2 separate regions of the Homo sapiens genome follow, and region 1 is linked to region 2. Evidence: promoter capture Hi-C in 16 types of primary human blood cells and fetal thymus (Javierre and others, 2016). All regions are on one chromosome and are shown on one strand. The core of a region is centred on a gene start or on the middle of the fragment in contact, and the rest is flanking DNA. Distances in the headings are between cores, read along the strand shown.

Region 1 (7,642 bases), core at 493-2,992, 180 kb after region 2:
CTGGCTTTCCTTTTTTTAAAAATTGATACATAATATTTATGGGGTACATATGATATTTTGATAGATGCATACGGTATCAAATATTCTGATCAAATCAGAGTATTTTGGATATGTGTCACCGCAAACATTATCATTTCTGTGTGTTTAGAACATTTCAGCTCTTCTAGCTATTTTGAAATACACGGTAAACTATTGTTAACTGTAGTCATCCTGTGCTATCAAAAGCTATAATTTATTCCTCCTATCTAACTATATGTTTGTACCCATTAACCAACCTCTCTTCAATCCCCCTTTCCCTACCATTCCCAGCCTCTGGTAACCACTGTTCTACTCTCTACCTCCATGAGATCAACTTTTTTAGCTCCCACATGAGTCAGAACATGCGATACGTGTCTTTCCGTGCCTGGCTCATTTCACTTAACATCATGACCTTCAGTCCCATCCATCTTGTGCAAATGACAGCATTTCATTCTTTTCATGGCTGGATAGTATTCCGTTGTGTGCATCTGCCACATTTTCTTTATCCATTCATCCGCTGATACTTAGAATGATTCCGTATTTGGCTCTTGTGAATAGTGCTGTAGTAAACATAGCTGTGCACACATCCCTTTGATACACTGATTTCCTTTTATTTGGATAAACAGCAGTAGTGGGATTGCTGGATTGTATGGTAGTTCCATTTTTAGTTTGAAAAAACTTTTTTTTTTTTTTTTAACAGAGGCTAGTTAATTTGTGATTAGATAGCTAAAAGGTTTGTGATTTTTTTTTAAAGGTGGTGGCTGGGCAGCATGGTGGCTCACTCCTGTAATCCCATGCCACAATCAAGGTTAGAATATTTTCATCGTCCCTCCTGGAAGTTCCCTTCTGCCCCTTTGCTATCAGCCGCCTTCCCATACTTTCTGGCAACCATGAATCTGTTTTCTGTCATTACAGTATGTCTTTTTAGAGTTTCATACAAACGAATTCATACAGTGTGCAGTCTCATGTCTGGCTTATTTCAATGAACATTATATTTTGAGATTCATCAGCATTGTTGCCTTAGCAATCATTTGTTCCTTTTCATATATTTCCTTTCTCTCCTCATGTTTCTTCTACCTTTTTGAACATATAGATCATATTTATAATGGCCTTTAACATCCATATCTGCTAATACTCCGTTATTTTTGGTCGGTTTTTATTGACTGACTTTTCCCCTGGTTGTACGTCATATTTTCCTGTTTCTTTGAATGCCTGGAATTTTAAAATTATATGTTGGACATTAATTTTACATTGCTAGTTTCTATATCTTGTTGTTTTCCTTTAGGTAATGTTGGACTTTGTTCTTGGAATCAGTAGGATCCTTTCAAAGCTTGCTTTTAAGGTTAGGGTGGGTTCAGACCAATTTTTAGTCTAGGGTTCATTTATCTCCACTACTAAGGTGATAGGAGTAGAGTCCCCTTCTGAGGACTCTGTTAGATAACCCACATATTATAAGATCTTTATATTTTGGTGGACAAAAATACAAACTATTCCCAGCTCCATGTGAGTGCAGGAATTGTTTGGCCTATTGCTTTCTGATGGATCTTTTCCCCAGCCTCTGCTAGTTTCTTTTCATGCGTATAGAAATCAGTACCCTTCCCAAAGTTCAAAGGGACCCTTCAGCAGATCTCTAAAGCTCTCTCATCGCACCCCACCTCCCTGCTCCTGTACACTGCCCAACAAATTCTAGCCCCCGCAGCCTCCCCAGCTCTGATCTCAACTGACCACTCTCCACTCCAATCTCAGATGTCCTCAGCTGGCAAGACTGGGCCCTCCTTCCCTGTGCAGCAGCCTGCAACCTGCCTTCAGGCAGCACAGTCTGGCATTCCCCGTGGTTCAATGTCTAAAAGTCATTGTTTATGTACTTTGTCCAGTTTCCTATTGTTTACAGCAGGAAGATAAATCCAGCCTCTAGTACTCCATGGCCAGAAGAAGTCTCATCTTCTAAATGTAAATTAAGCATGTATTGATACTTCTAGGGGGAAGTTAGGGGACTTGGCTCATCAGTTCCCAACATACTTAAATATAACACACTTTAATGTCTGCTTTCTTCTTTGTAACTTAAGCGATGACATAAATGATGCTCTTCAGTGCTCACACTAGGCTAATCTAAGCTTGAGTGTTTTTCTGTGATCAACTTGAAATTATCTACATAAAGAGTATTAATTTTGACTTATTTGTGGCCAACTTATATAGAGTAGCTTCCCATGAATGATGGATATGTTAGTATTCTGATTCTAAGGACATTGTTAGCTATCTGTATGTCTGGTTAATTTGTCATAAGAACTTATGTCATGTATCATGCTTGGACTTTTAAAAATATGAACTTGCTGATTTTATAATCTATATATGAAAATTACTGCAGCCTTTTCTATTCATGAGTATTCATGGTTGAGAAGATTCTAAAACAGTTCTTAGCCCTTTCCAAGCAGATCTTTTAAATTTATTGCTTTGCTCTGTATAACAGAACAGTTGTTTGGATATCTTTTCAAAGATTGACTTACCATAATGTCAAAACCTGCCCAAATATTTAGTCAGTTGGCAATTGCAGACAGAAACGTGTGTTTTAATCTATTTGTGTTTTAGGGAAGATGAGCAAAATAGGATTAAAGATACGATTTTATACTATTACAGATATGTTACTGTTGTCTGGTAAGAATTTTAAGGAAACAGGCTAGGCGCGGTGGCTCATGTCTGTAATCCCAGCACTTTGGGAGGCCAAGGTGGGTAGATCACTTGAGGTTAGGTGTTCGAGACCAGCCTGGCCAACATGGCGAAACCCTGTCTCTACTAAAAATACAAAAGTTAGCTGGGCGTGGTGATGTGCACCCGTAACCCCAGCTATCAGGAAGCTGAGACAGGAGAATCGCTTGAACCCGGGAAGCAGAGATTGCAGTGAGCCAAGATCGTGCCGTTGCACTCCAGCCTGGGCGACAGAGTGAGACACCGTCTCAAAAAAAAAAGAAAGAAAAAGAAAAAAAGAATTGTAAGGAAACAACAAAATGAAACTCAGAAGATGAAAATTTGGGGGTCTAAAGGCTTCATCTCTGGTCTTATGTGTAAAATTTATTTGCAGCACAGTTAATTAGAATGAATCTTAAAGTTAGAAGATGTAAATTCTAGTTGCAGCTATGCCACTTGCTACTTGTAATGTGCCACACACTATTGTGCAACTGTAGGCATGTCACTACCTTGGTGAGAGTCTCCCCACCTATAATATGAAGATAATCATAAATATCCTGCCTACTGTCAAGGGATTTGTGGAGTGCTCAGTGAGGGGGTATGGCTGAAATTCTTTGAGGATGCTAACGCTCCATTAAACGTTTTTTACATTATTATAACTTCTGCTGTTAACAGGTAGAATGACAGAATACAAAATGAGACATTTTACATTTATATTCCATATGGTTTACTCTGTAAAATATTTTATGGTGAAATGGAAAAAAACGAAACAGAACTGATTAGATAGAATGGAGATAGAGGAGATTTACTGTCTTTTTTCCATTCCTTTTTACTTAGGATTATTTTGTTTTCTCTCACCGTGACTTTCCAGGTAAAGAGTGTGTACAACAGTTAGCTGAAAACACCAGGTATTTCAGGAGACGCCTGAAAGAGATGGGCTTCATCATCTATGGAAATGAAGACTCTCCAGTAGTGCCTTTGATGCTCTACATGCCTGCCAAAATTGGGTACGTTTTGTTGCAGATCACAGACCAGTCTGTCCTTATCCTTATCTGTGATGTGAGACCAGGGCTTATGTATTTTGTTAGGGAAAATGGTCTTGTCCTTACTGTGTTAACCTTCATTTGGTACATATGCCATAGATCAAATAGTGGATTCCAAATTGTAAAGTATGTTAATTTGTTCTTCTTTCATTAAACATTTGAGTTTCATGTACTCTCTAGGGGCCTGGGATAGATCAGTGAATAAAATACAAACATCTCTGTCCTTGTGGAGCTTACAGTCTAGTAGGGGGCAACAGTCAGACAGACATAATAAACAAATGAACTGTGTACGATGTTAGAAGGTGTCAAGTGCTATGGAAAAAAATAGAGCAGGACCTATATGGGGAGTTGAGAGTGCCCTGTGGGCGGGCCGATAACACTATTAAATAGGGTGGTCAGGGTAAGGAAGCCTCCTTGGGAAGGAAAATGACATCTGAGCAAAGATTTGAAGGAGCTGACAGCCACTGGAGAAAGAAGCATCTGTGCAAAGGCCACAGTACAGAAGCGAGCTTGCTTAGCTGACGGAAGAGTAGCAAAGAGGTCCCTGGAATTGGAGCACCGTGCCCCAGGGCGAGCAGTGGGCCATGAGGTCAGAGAGGTTTTATCAGAGTGTGTTATTGGATACTTACCAGGTGTGCAGATTACACCAGCTTCTTTGGTTTGTATGAGGCATACATAATGGAAAGCCCTGCCCTAGGATAGCTTTCAATGTATTTGAGAAGTCCAGATGTATAATGAAACCAGAAGACATTTGAAAAGCAAATGAACAGTAATTATACTGAACAAATTTTATTATATGCAAAGTGGCCCTGAAGATGTAGAATAAAGGAGTGACCTGCTTAGTATAGGCTCAGTAAGAAAGGCACATCTTGTTGGATGGGTGAGTTTTGAGCTGGATCTTAAAGCATTTCTCCAGTTTGATTGAACTCATTGAAGGAGCAATTTTTGTAAATTTTTGAATCCCCAGTGTCCACCACAGTCTCCGACACTCAGTAAATGTTTACTGAAATGAATATGGGAGAGGAAATTAAATCAGGGAACCTGGAAGTAATGTGATTCAAAGAGAATGAAAGGGAAGTAAGGAAAAGGTGCTCCCTGAGAGAAAAAGAAGAATTTGGGTTTCAACATGAAGTCATATGGGCAGTTGGTATTATGGCTTCAGAGGGGATGGGGAAGGATTTTCTTCATTCTTCTTTAAGTGGAATTCTCATAAACAAACATGAAGAGTTATCAGATCCAAAGGACTCAGTCTAGAGCTCTCTTTAAAGAAGGCTGTGTCTCCTTTATTCTACATAGGTGCAACTGACTGTGTACACTTTAATTAGGAAAGATTTAGAGAAGGTACAGGACCCAAAAGGGCACAAAAAAGCAATAACTACTAAATATAAGGAAAACAACTCTGTATACAGCATGTATAAAGAAAAGCAAGGTATATTTGGGGAGATAAAAGTTGTAAAGGCATTAAGATGTGTGTTTGTTGAGAAAAAATAAATTTGTGCATTTAAGAAGTTAAAAAAAAAAGATTTAGAGAAGGTAAAGAATTAGAATAAGGCACTAGACAGTTTGGGAGCATGTGCTGAAGATACAGGGCACCCAGGTTCATGCTGACACAAAGGAGGTATGTTGAGGAAGATGTACTGGTACTACAGAGAGTGGGAAAAGGCTGTGAAAAGACTGGCATTAATGTAATGCCAAATGTGCAGGATCTGTATAGCCCAGGCTGGAGTGCAATGGCGTGATCTCGGCTTACTGCAACCTCCACCTCCCAGGTTCAAGCAAATCTTGTGCTTCCGCCTCCCCAGTAGCTGGGATTACAGATGTGTGCCACCACACCTGGCTAATTTTTGTATTTTTTAGTGGAGATGGGGTCTAACCATGTTGGCCAGGCTGGTCTCCAACTCCTGACCTCAGGTGATCTGCCCGCCTCGGCCTCCCAAAGTGCTGGGATTACAGGCACGAGCCACTGGCCCGGCCACATTTTTTTATTCTCAAACAAATGCTGTAAACAGCTTAAAGGAAAAGTTGAAACATAAGGGAGGTCAATAAGAGGAAAAGACAAAAAGCAACATAATTTGGGCCAGGCACAGTGGCTCACACCTGTAATCCCACTTTGGGAGGCCGAGGTGGGTGGATCACAAGGTCAGGAGATCGAGACCATCCTGGCCAACATGGTGAAACCCCGTCTCTACTAAAAATACGAAAATCATCTGGGTGTGGTGGTGCACACCTGTAATCCCAGCTGCTCGGGAGGCTGAGGCAGGAGAATTGCTAGAATCTGGGAGGTGGAGGTTATGGTGAGCCAAGATCGTGCCACTGCACTGCAGCCTGGCGACAAAGCGAGAGACTCAAAAAAAAACCCACATAATTTAGTAGACAAAATTAACTAAAAGTTAGAATGTGTTATTTAGACAAGATACAGATGTGGAGTAAGGCCACAGGGCCTCCAATTTGGCTTACGATAGGGGTGGGGGATTGTTAAATACGAATTGTGTGGTCTGAGTAATCAGCTGAAGCCAGCGGGTGAACTGGCCTGACAGACACCAAAGGAAGCCCTGAATTCTGAAGCAGTGTTGTTCCCAAGACAATTAAAGAAACGTGTGATCTGGAGAGCTCATGCCAGTCAGCCATTCTGCTAGCAGAAAAGATGTGCCGTGTTACAGCAGATCCCCCACAGCTGCAGAATCCTCAGAATTTGCGGATTAATGTTAAACTGCCAAGCTTAACATTTCAAGGACCAGATTTTAATTAAATACAGGTTCATTTTGAAGCCTCTGAACCACTATTACATATCAGGGACACTTTTTTTTTTTTTTGAGACAGAGCCTTGCTCTGTTGCTCAGGCTGGAGTACAGTCGTGTGATCTTGCCTTACTACAGCTTCTGCCTCCAAGCTTCGAGAGATTCTCATGCCTCAGCCTCCTGAGTAGCTGGGACTACAGGTGCATGCCACCACACATAGCTAATTTTTTGTATTTTTGGTAGAGACGGGATTTCACCATGTTGCCCAGGCTGGTTATTTCAGTTTTGTGAAGGACACCATATAGGAGAAGACTGCTTTAGGATTGACTTTAAAAGTATTTGTGAGCTGTCAATTTTAACTTTAAAAGGAGTTAAAGGAAACTCCTATTAGAAGTCTCCAATGCCTGCATCACCAAAGAGTTGAAATCTTTGAGGACAGCAGGTCCTCTGTAATGAGTGCTTTTTCACTCCTCCTGGTTTCTGTTCTTGTTTTCCCCTTTGCAGCGCCTTTGGACGGGAGATGCTGAAGCGGAACATCGGTGTCGTTGTGGTTGGATTTCCTGCCACCCCAATTATTGAGTCCAGAGCCAGGTTTTGCCTGTCAGCAGCTCATACCAAAGAAATACTTGATACTGTAAGTAGGCACTTTCACCTTGATATAAATATGCCTTTTATTAAAAGGGCCTGTATATTAGATGAAATTCATAATATATTGATCTTGATGTTCTTGTGAGCACCTAAGACAGAGGGGGTGACAGTGCTACCAAAAACATTGGCATTTACAAAAAAACTGTCACCCACCACACCTGCATCATGAGAGCTCTGGAGAATTTTCCGGCTTTGTCTTGCTCTACTGTCTCCCTCACTATGGACTCTACAATTCTCTTTCCACTCTAGCTATTTCTACATTAAGCTTTCTCATATGTTGTTCTGTCTAAAATTTTCTCTCTTGAGCTTTCTCTCCCCTCTGCCTGGCTGACTGCCACTCATTCTTCACATCTCCATTTAAAGGAAAATTGCTCAGGGGCGCCCCACACCTTCTTGCTCTGTGTTCCCTTGGAATCCTGAGATTCTCCCTTACTAAATTCTTCACACCTATAATTATTTAATAGCAGTCTTCTCCATTAGATAAATATTGAGGATAGGAATAAGTCTGTTTTA
Region 2 (7,393 bases), core at 2,296-4,795:
AAAATGAAAATTAAAAAAATTTTCCAGTCTGGACAGTATGGCGAAACCCTGTCTCCACTAAAAAATACCAAAAAAGTTAGCTGGGCATGGTGGCACATGTCTATAGTCCCAGCTACTCAGGAGGCCAAGGCAGGAAGATCACTTAAGCCTGGGAGGCAGAGGCTGCAGTGAGATCAGGCCACTGCACCCCTGCAGGGGGACAGAGCGAGACCCTGTTGCAAGATAAGAATTTTTTAAAACACTTTAAGCTTTTTTTTCAACAATTTTTGTGAGTGTATAGTAGGTGTATATATTTATTTGGGTATATATTTATATATATTTATATATTATTAGGTGTATATATTTATATATTTATATATATAAATATGTATATTTATTATGGAGTACATGAGATGTTTTGATATAGGCATGCAATGTAAATTAAGCACATCATGGAGCATGGGGTATCTATCCCCTCAAGCATTTATCCTTTGACTTATGGGGTATCCATCCCCTCAGGCATTTATCCTTTGAGTTACAAATAATCCAATTACACTCTGAGTTATTTTAAAATGTACAATTATTATTGACCATAGTCACCCTGTTGTACTATCAAATAGGTCTTATTCATTCTATTTTTTTTGTACCCATTAGCCATCCCCACCTCCCACCTACTTTTCCTTAATACTTACAAAAGGTAAAATGCACCTTCTGACATGGCCGAACTGTGCAAAGTGTTCTTTCAGCTGACCTGTGTGGCAGAAGAAAACATTAAAAGTAGTTACTATATTTTGGATTCTCTATCTTAGACTGTAGAAAGACAGGGTCACCAGATTTCTTGTGGACAGGAACTACTTTGCATTTCCTTAAAGGCTTAAGATTTAGGAAGCAGCTATGGTACTGACTATAAAGCCATAATGTACCAGACTTGGTGGTGAGATGGACAGAGAAGTTGTTGAGTTGGCTGCAGTCTCCATCCTCAGCAAATATCGAGTGTTTTCATACCAGTTACTGTGCTATGTGGACTATGATCCCTGTGAGCAGATCACAATGAAGAAAAAGACAAATTACAATCCAGTGTGTTTCCCGGTATACTGAAGATTTCCAAATAAAATCCCAACTTACTGGTCTTTCACAATTTAGTAAAATGTGTTGAGTTGCCCTCACCTACCCTTCCTGCCTTATTTCCCACTGCTAGCCCCTAGTTACTCTCTAGTACAACTAATTGAATTATCTTTATCTGTCCTGCGGGTTACCCTCTTTGCATATGTTGTTCTCTCCCCTCCATATGTTGGTAATCCTATCTCCCCCTGGCTAACTTGTAACACTATAACTATCCTTCAAGACCCAAACCAAGTACATCCACTGAGTATTACTTTATTGGGCTCCTATCACAGTACAAGACAATGTACCAGCCCTGTGAGACTTCAAAGATTTAGAGTATATAATCTTAAAGACTAAAAACTACACGATCTGTTTCTCTTCTGAACTACAGTGCTTGTACTTCACTGATTTACTTTTTATAATATCTATTTAGTTCTCCTAGTTCACCAAAACCTCACTGGTTCAACAATTGCCTATATTTGTTCTAAGTCTCTTCATCCCCACCACTAATTGTAAGCTCCCTCAGCATATAAACCACTATGTTTACAGTGACCAATAAACAGCAGGGCCTCAATATTGGCTAAATGAATAAGTAAAAGTCCACTAATCCTTCCAACAATCCACAGAGACTAAATTTTGAAGGGCTCTAATGGTTAAGTCAAACCAACTGGCAAGATCAAGGTCTCACAGAATATGATACTGGAGAACAAAATAATGTTAAACATATGTTTTATACCAGATAATTAAAGTCCTAGAAGACACTGATTTCAAAACAAACCAGCTCTGGAAGGTAACCCTCTTCCTAAATTGCCTAAAATGGTGAAGGAAAAACAGCTGCAAGCACCAAGAACAATGCCTACCACAGAATAGATACTCAAATAAATATTTGCTGAATCAATGGAACAACAAAGAGAAACTGTTTCGAAGCTGTACATAATGCTGACTCTTTTTAAGGGTTTTAAACTAGCCCTTTATTGTCTGGAAACTTGCATCCGCAAGATGCTAATGAAACTCCTCAGCCTTTCCATAAAGTTTCACAGGGACTACGGGAGACTTTACTGGGCTTGGTCTTCACCAACCACATGTTTAAAACACGGGGCACAAACCAACCTATTTCCCATTCTACTACTCACATCTGAGCCACTAAAAACTTAGAAGAAACTAAATCTTGCTCCATTTTGTTTCCAGGGGTTGACCTGAAACATGAATATCTACAAAAAGAGTGACCACGAATGTTTACATGTTGGTAAGCAAATATAAAAACCTCATCTCAAAACTGCAGCTGACAAAAATTGAAGGTGGTGAAAGATTTCAGAACTAATTATTCCAACCTTTATCTGTAGACTAGGCCTCTCCCGTAAGTTTCAATTTTAGTTACCGTGAAAATAACTATCATTTGCTGAGTACTTACACTGTATCTAACACAAGTCTAAGAAGTTTGCATATAAACTCAATCCTCTCAACAATCCTATGAGTTGGGTATTATTGACTCCATTTTATCGATGAGTAAACTGAGGCCCAGTTGTGAGCCCTTTTCCCATACTAACTTCAGTTATTCAAGTGATAACAACGATTAAATGGCCAAGTTGGAATTCTAACCCCAACGGTCTAGCTTCGGAGTCCACTTCTCAGCCACAATGATATACAACCTTTGTCCAATTGCCTGACGGAAACCTCACAAGTTTCTCAAAGTCAACACATTCAAACTTTACTCATCTTCTCTTGGCCTGCTCCTAACTTCTAAACAAACAATTCACCAATGCTAAAAACCCAGAAATCATTTCTCCCTTTCCTTTATTCCGTACACTTCTCCCACTTAAGCCATCACGAAACGGCATCTAATTTGCTTTTAAAACATTAATGCATCTGACCACCATCCTTCTACCATCGCCCTAATTCAGGTCCTCACGTTTTAAGTAAATTAATGAAATTGCCTTTTAGCTCCTCTGCACGCCTACAATCTTGCCACCTTGAATCCATCCTCCACACTACAGTCAAAATTATCCCTTCTAAATTGTAAATCTTGGTTACCAAGTAATAAATCTTTACACCAAATCACTCCTAAAGGCAAGAGCCGGTGCATTCGTGACCCCAAAAGCTCAAGGGACATCCCTAAACGGTTAACTGCAAACAAAATTTCTTTCTGCTCACTTGCATGCTCAGGAGCAGTCTCCTAATTCAGCCACCACGCTGACTTAAGTACCCTGCAAAAAGCAGAAGCTTTGAGGATCACTTGGACCTAAAAATTCCACTACTCCCACATCTCCATCACTCACTCGACGCCGCAGTCCAAGGAATTCTTCTCACAAAAGCAACCGGCTGATTGATACTTCTACGCAGCGCCGCAGCACCTCTCGCTGCTGAGGCCGCCATCTTCAGACTAAAGCACCTTCTCGAGCCGAGGTCGCGGCCCCGGAAAAAATTTCCGGATCCGGAACACGAGAGAATCTGCTTCCGGATCAGAGGGTATAGGCCGCGAGATGGGGAAGATGGCAGCGGCCGTGGGCTCTGTGGCGACTCTGGCGACTGAGCCCGGGGAGGACGCCTTTCGGAAACTTTTCCGCTTCTACCGTCAGAGCCGGCCCGGGACCGCAGACCTGGAAGGGGTCATCGACTTCTCGGCGGCCCACGCAGCCCGTGGCAAGGGTCCTGGTGCCCAAAAGGTACAGAGAGAGGAGTGGCGCGCGTCTCTCCATCGCTTTGCCCCGCGTCTTGGAGGGACTTACGTGTCTTCTTCGCCTCTTTTCACCTCCAGACCGATTGTTATTGAACGATTCCTGACCTCCTTTGGCTGCAGAGTCGAACTCCCCACTAACCGTCACACTTAGCAATAAAGCGTTGAGATGCCTGTTTCTTTAGGCGGCCATTCCTGGCGGGGGCGCTCAGTCAAAAGAGCCTGGGAATCCGTGTTTATTTCTTACTGTAACTGTCTCCTCACATTTCTGTTTGGGTTTTTGTAAAACCCCATAGAACGTCTTTGTAGACGGTAGGGTAGACTTCTGCAGCTTAAAAAAAACCACTCCCGAGGAATCCCAGAACTGACAGGGATGCGGCGCTGTTTGTTAAGCCACTGTGCGTAAAACTAGTCCCTGTCTTCTCCTCTGGCTCTTTTAGAAGGAGGTCATTGAAGGATTCTGAGAATCCCTCCGTGTTGAAAATAAATGGCAAACAAGTATATATGGAATACAGGCACCGTTCTCTCTCTCAGCTTTTCCCCATGGAGATTAAGAAGGGGAACACAGTCCGGGAGCGGTGGCTCAAGCCTGTAATCCCGCACTTCGGAGGCCGAGGCGGGTGGATCGCTTGAACCCAGGGGTTCGAGACCAGCCTGGGGCATGGCAAGACCCCCGTTTCCGCCAAAAATACAAAAAATTAGCCAGTCTCATAACCTGTTCTCAAGTAAATAGATTTTTTAAAAATTATTTTTTTAAGGGAACATAACAGGCAAGAGGGAAAACGGGGAACCAAAACTGTAGTCCAATTTATATTTTCTTTCTTTACAATCCACTTTAACGTTGAGGATATGCAGTCCCTTAATTTGCTCTTGGTGTTGTCCACAGATGTCTAGATGAGGCATTCTTTCCAAGCTTCCTAACAGCTCTGATAAAATTGGGATGCTACAGTATTAAGTGTTAATGATTGCATACTTGAGCTCAGCTTTTCAGCACCTTCATTTGTTAGGGAAAAAAAGTGGTCTTAGAGTTGTCAAAATACAGAAAGTCCACACCCCAATAATAATATACTTTTTCTCTCCAGAGCGCTTCAGACTCTCATTCAGCTCCTTTTACCTACATTTTACCATAATATGTACATGCTTTTTAGAATGTCAGCCATCAGGGAATGAGCCATTATGTGTCTAGTACAGGACCTAAAACAGTACTAAGTACAGTATGTGTTGAGTACATGAAAGCTTGGGTGTTTAGTTCCTCAGCTCAAAGCAGATTAAAGTAGTAATTAAGAGAAGTTACTATTACAAGCCAGCTGATGAGACTGGTGGGGAAAGTGGTGGTTAACAGTCTGGCAAGGGAGGAAAGAGAAAACCTTTTATAAAAGCTCAGTGGTGTCGTTCAGTTTAGCATATGATAGAATAGGTCCACTAACATCACCTCTGAGAGTGTGTTGAATTATAGTGCAGTATTAAGTATGGCCTATTAAAGAAATCATGACAAAATGCTTAAAAGTGTTTTACCAGTGCCTAGGTACCTGGAAAACTCAGCTGATAGTACTGTCAGAGGGTTTCATATAGCCCTTTTATTATAGAGACTGGTTATACATCAGCAAACTTTTGGTATTTTGTCCAGGAATCTCCACACTTGGAGAAGTTGATAAGATAAAAGATCATTCTCTTTCAAAGAGAATGTTTCATATATATATATATGTGTGTGTGTATATATGTGTGTGTATATATAATATATATACTTTTTTTTACTGAGACAGCGTCTCACTGTGTCACCCAGGCTGAAGTGCAGTGGCGTGATCTTGGCTCACTGCAACCTCCATCTCCTAGGTTCAAATGATTCTTCTGCTTCAGCCTCCCAAGTAGCTGGGACTACAGGCACGCGCCACCATGCCTGGCTAATTTTTGTATTTTTAGTAGAGACGGGGTTTCGCCATGTTGGCCAGTCTGGACCCAAACTCCTGACCTCAGGTGATCTACCTGCCTTGGCTTCCCAAAGTGTTGGAATTACAGGTGTGAGCCACCGCTCGGCCTGTTTCATATATTTTAAGGCAAGGCAGACCCTAGGTTTACTATTCAGGGAAGAATAAAGGTTTTTTCCTTTAATGTTTTGACTTCAATGACTGCATAGTGGGTCTCTTAACCAATGTAATGAGCCATCCATTAGATACTCACATACAAAGAAAACTTCAGCCCCTGAAATACTAAATTCATTTCTAAGTAATTAACAGAAGCAGAAGTTGTAGCGTCAGTTGGACATTTCATCTAGAAGAGGGCAAACAGGATTTTTTAGCTTTTACTTTTAGCAGACAGGATTCCCAGTGTCTCACTGCAACATTTTTTCTGTCTGTTTACAGCACTCTCTTTTCATTCTCTTTTTTTTTTTTTTTTTTTTTCTTAGACGGAGTCTTGCTCTGTTCCTAGGCTGGAGTACAGTGGCACAATCTCAGCTCACTGCAACTTTCACCTCCCAGGTTGAAGCAATTCTGGTGCCCCAGCCTCTCGTAGCTGGGATTTCAGGCGCCCGCCACTACACCCAACTAATTTTTGTATTTTTAGTAGAGACGGGGTTTCACCATGTTGGCCAGGTTGGTCTCGGACTCCTGACCTCGTGATCCGCCTGCCTCAGCCTCCCAAAGTGCTGGGATTACAGGCGTGAGCCACTGCGACCGGCCTTCTCTTTTCATTTTCTCACCCTGTCCAGCTTGGTGTTCCTTATAGCTCTGTTTAAATACCAACTCTATACAAGTGTCTCAAAAGCATTACTGTTAGCCCTAACTGAAGTAAATAGCTTTGTGACTCAAGATATTTCAGTACACCAAGCACCTTTCATGATTCAGCCCCATAAGAAGTTGGAAAGGTATGATGTCATAGGAAAAAGTAGTTTTGAAAGCCAAAATTAGCCTGCTTAAGTTTTCTTATTACCATTTTGCCTTAATTTTGGGTGACTCTACTGTTACTATATAGATGAGAAACTGAGGCTCTAAGACATTAAATGACTCATCTAAAATGCCCAGATCAAGTAAGCAGTACAGCTAAGATTAACCCCAGAGTTAATACTCCTTGCTTTGGCCAGGCACAGTGGCATATACCTCTAATCCCATTGCTTTGGGAGGCCAACACAGGAGGATCACTTGAGTTCAGGAGCTTGAGGCTGCAGTGAACTATGATCATGCCTCTGCACTCGCCTGAGCAATAGAGCAAGGTTCTGTATCTTAAACAAGAATCCTAGCTTTGCCTCATACAAGAAATGTGTTTGGAGGTTTGAGGTTCCCGGGGTTGACCTGCAAAATAGATTTAGTCCTTTAACTTCTGTTTCCTTCCTGCCAGGTGATCAAATCTCAGCTAAATGTGTCTTCTGTCAGTGAGCAGAATGCATATAGAGCAGGTCTTCAGCCCGTCAGCAAGTGGCAAGCCTATGGACTCAAAGGCTATCCTGGTGAGTGTAACTGACCTCAGAGAAGGCAATATCACTCAATCATTTATGTCTTCATGTCTTCAAAGAAGGTACTGTGTGTGAGCAAGTAAATAGACAAAGGATACACATAATAAACAGATAAATGTTTCATTTCCAAACCCATTCTAGACTGTACCTTGTCTAAGACGTCCGTTTTGAAAGGATAGAACAGGAGT

What was found. The method cuts DNA at HindIII sites, captures the fragments that hold promoters and counts their contacts. A CHiCAGO score of 5 or more calls a contact.
Region 1: a contact is called between a fragment that was not itself captured here and the fragment with the promoter of ALKBH1 in region 2, in 3 of 17 cell types (monocytes, naive CD8 T cells and naive B cells). The highest score is 8.7, in monocytes.

The regions. Positions count from the first base shown.
Region 1 is chr14:77,517,511-77,525,152 of GRCh38, reverse strand. SPTLC2 (serine palmitoyltransferase long chain base subunit 2) reads left to right here. Exons shown (of 12, transcript NM_004863.4): 10 at 3,572-3,707; 11 at 6,986-7,115. Among named protein-coding and RNA genes, the nearest start is that of ISM2, 23 kb to the right of the region's middle. The HindIII fragment of the contact is 784 bases long and covers 1,351-2,134 here.
Region 2 is chr14:77,704,175-77,711,567 of GRCh38, reverse strand. It overlaps ALKBH1 (alkB homolog 1, histone H2A dioxygenase), which reads left to right and starts at 3,545. Exons shown (of 6, transcript NM_006020.3): 1 at 3,545-3,746; 2 at 7,091-7,199. The coding sequence starts at 3,564. It overlaps SLIRP (SRA stem-loop interacting RNA binding protein), which reads right to left and starts at 3,465. Exons shown (of 4, transcript NM_031210.6): 1 at 3,360-3,465; 2 at 672-730. The coding sequence starts at 3,456. RefSeq lists an enhancer at 3,582-3,911. The HindIII fragment of the contact is 1,367 bases long and covers 3,306-4,672 here.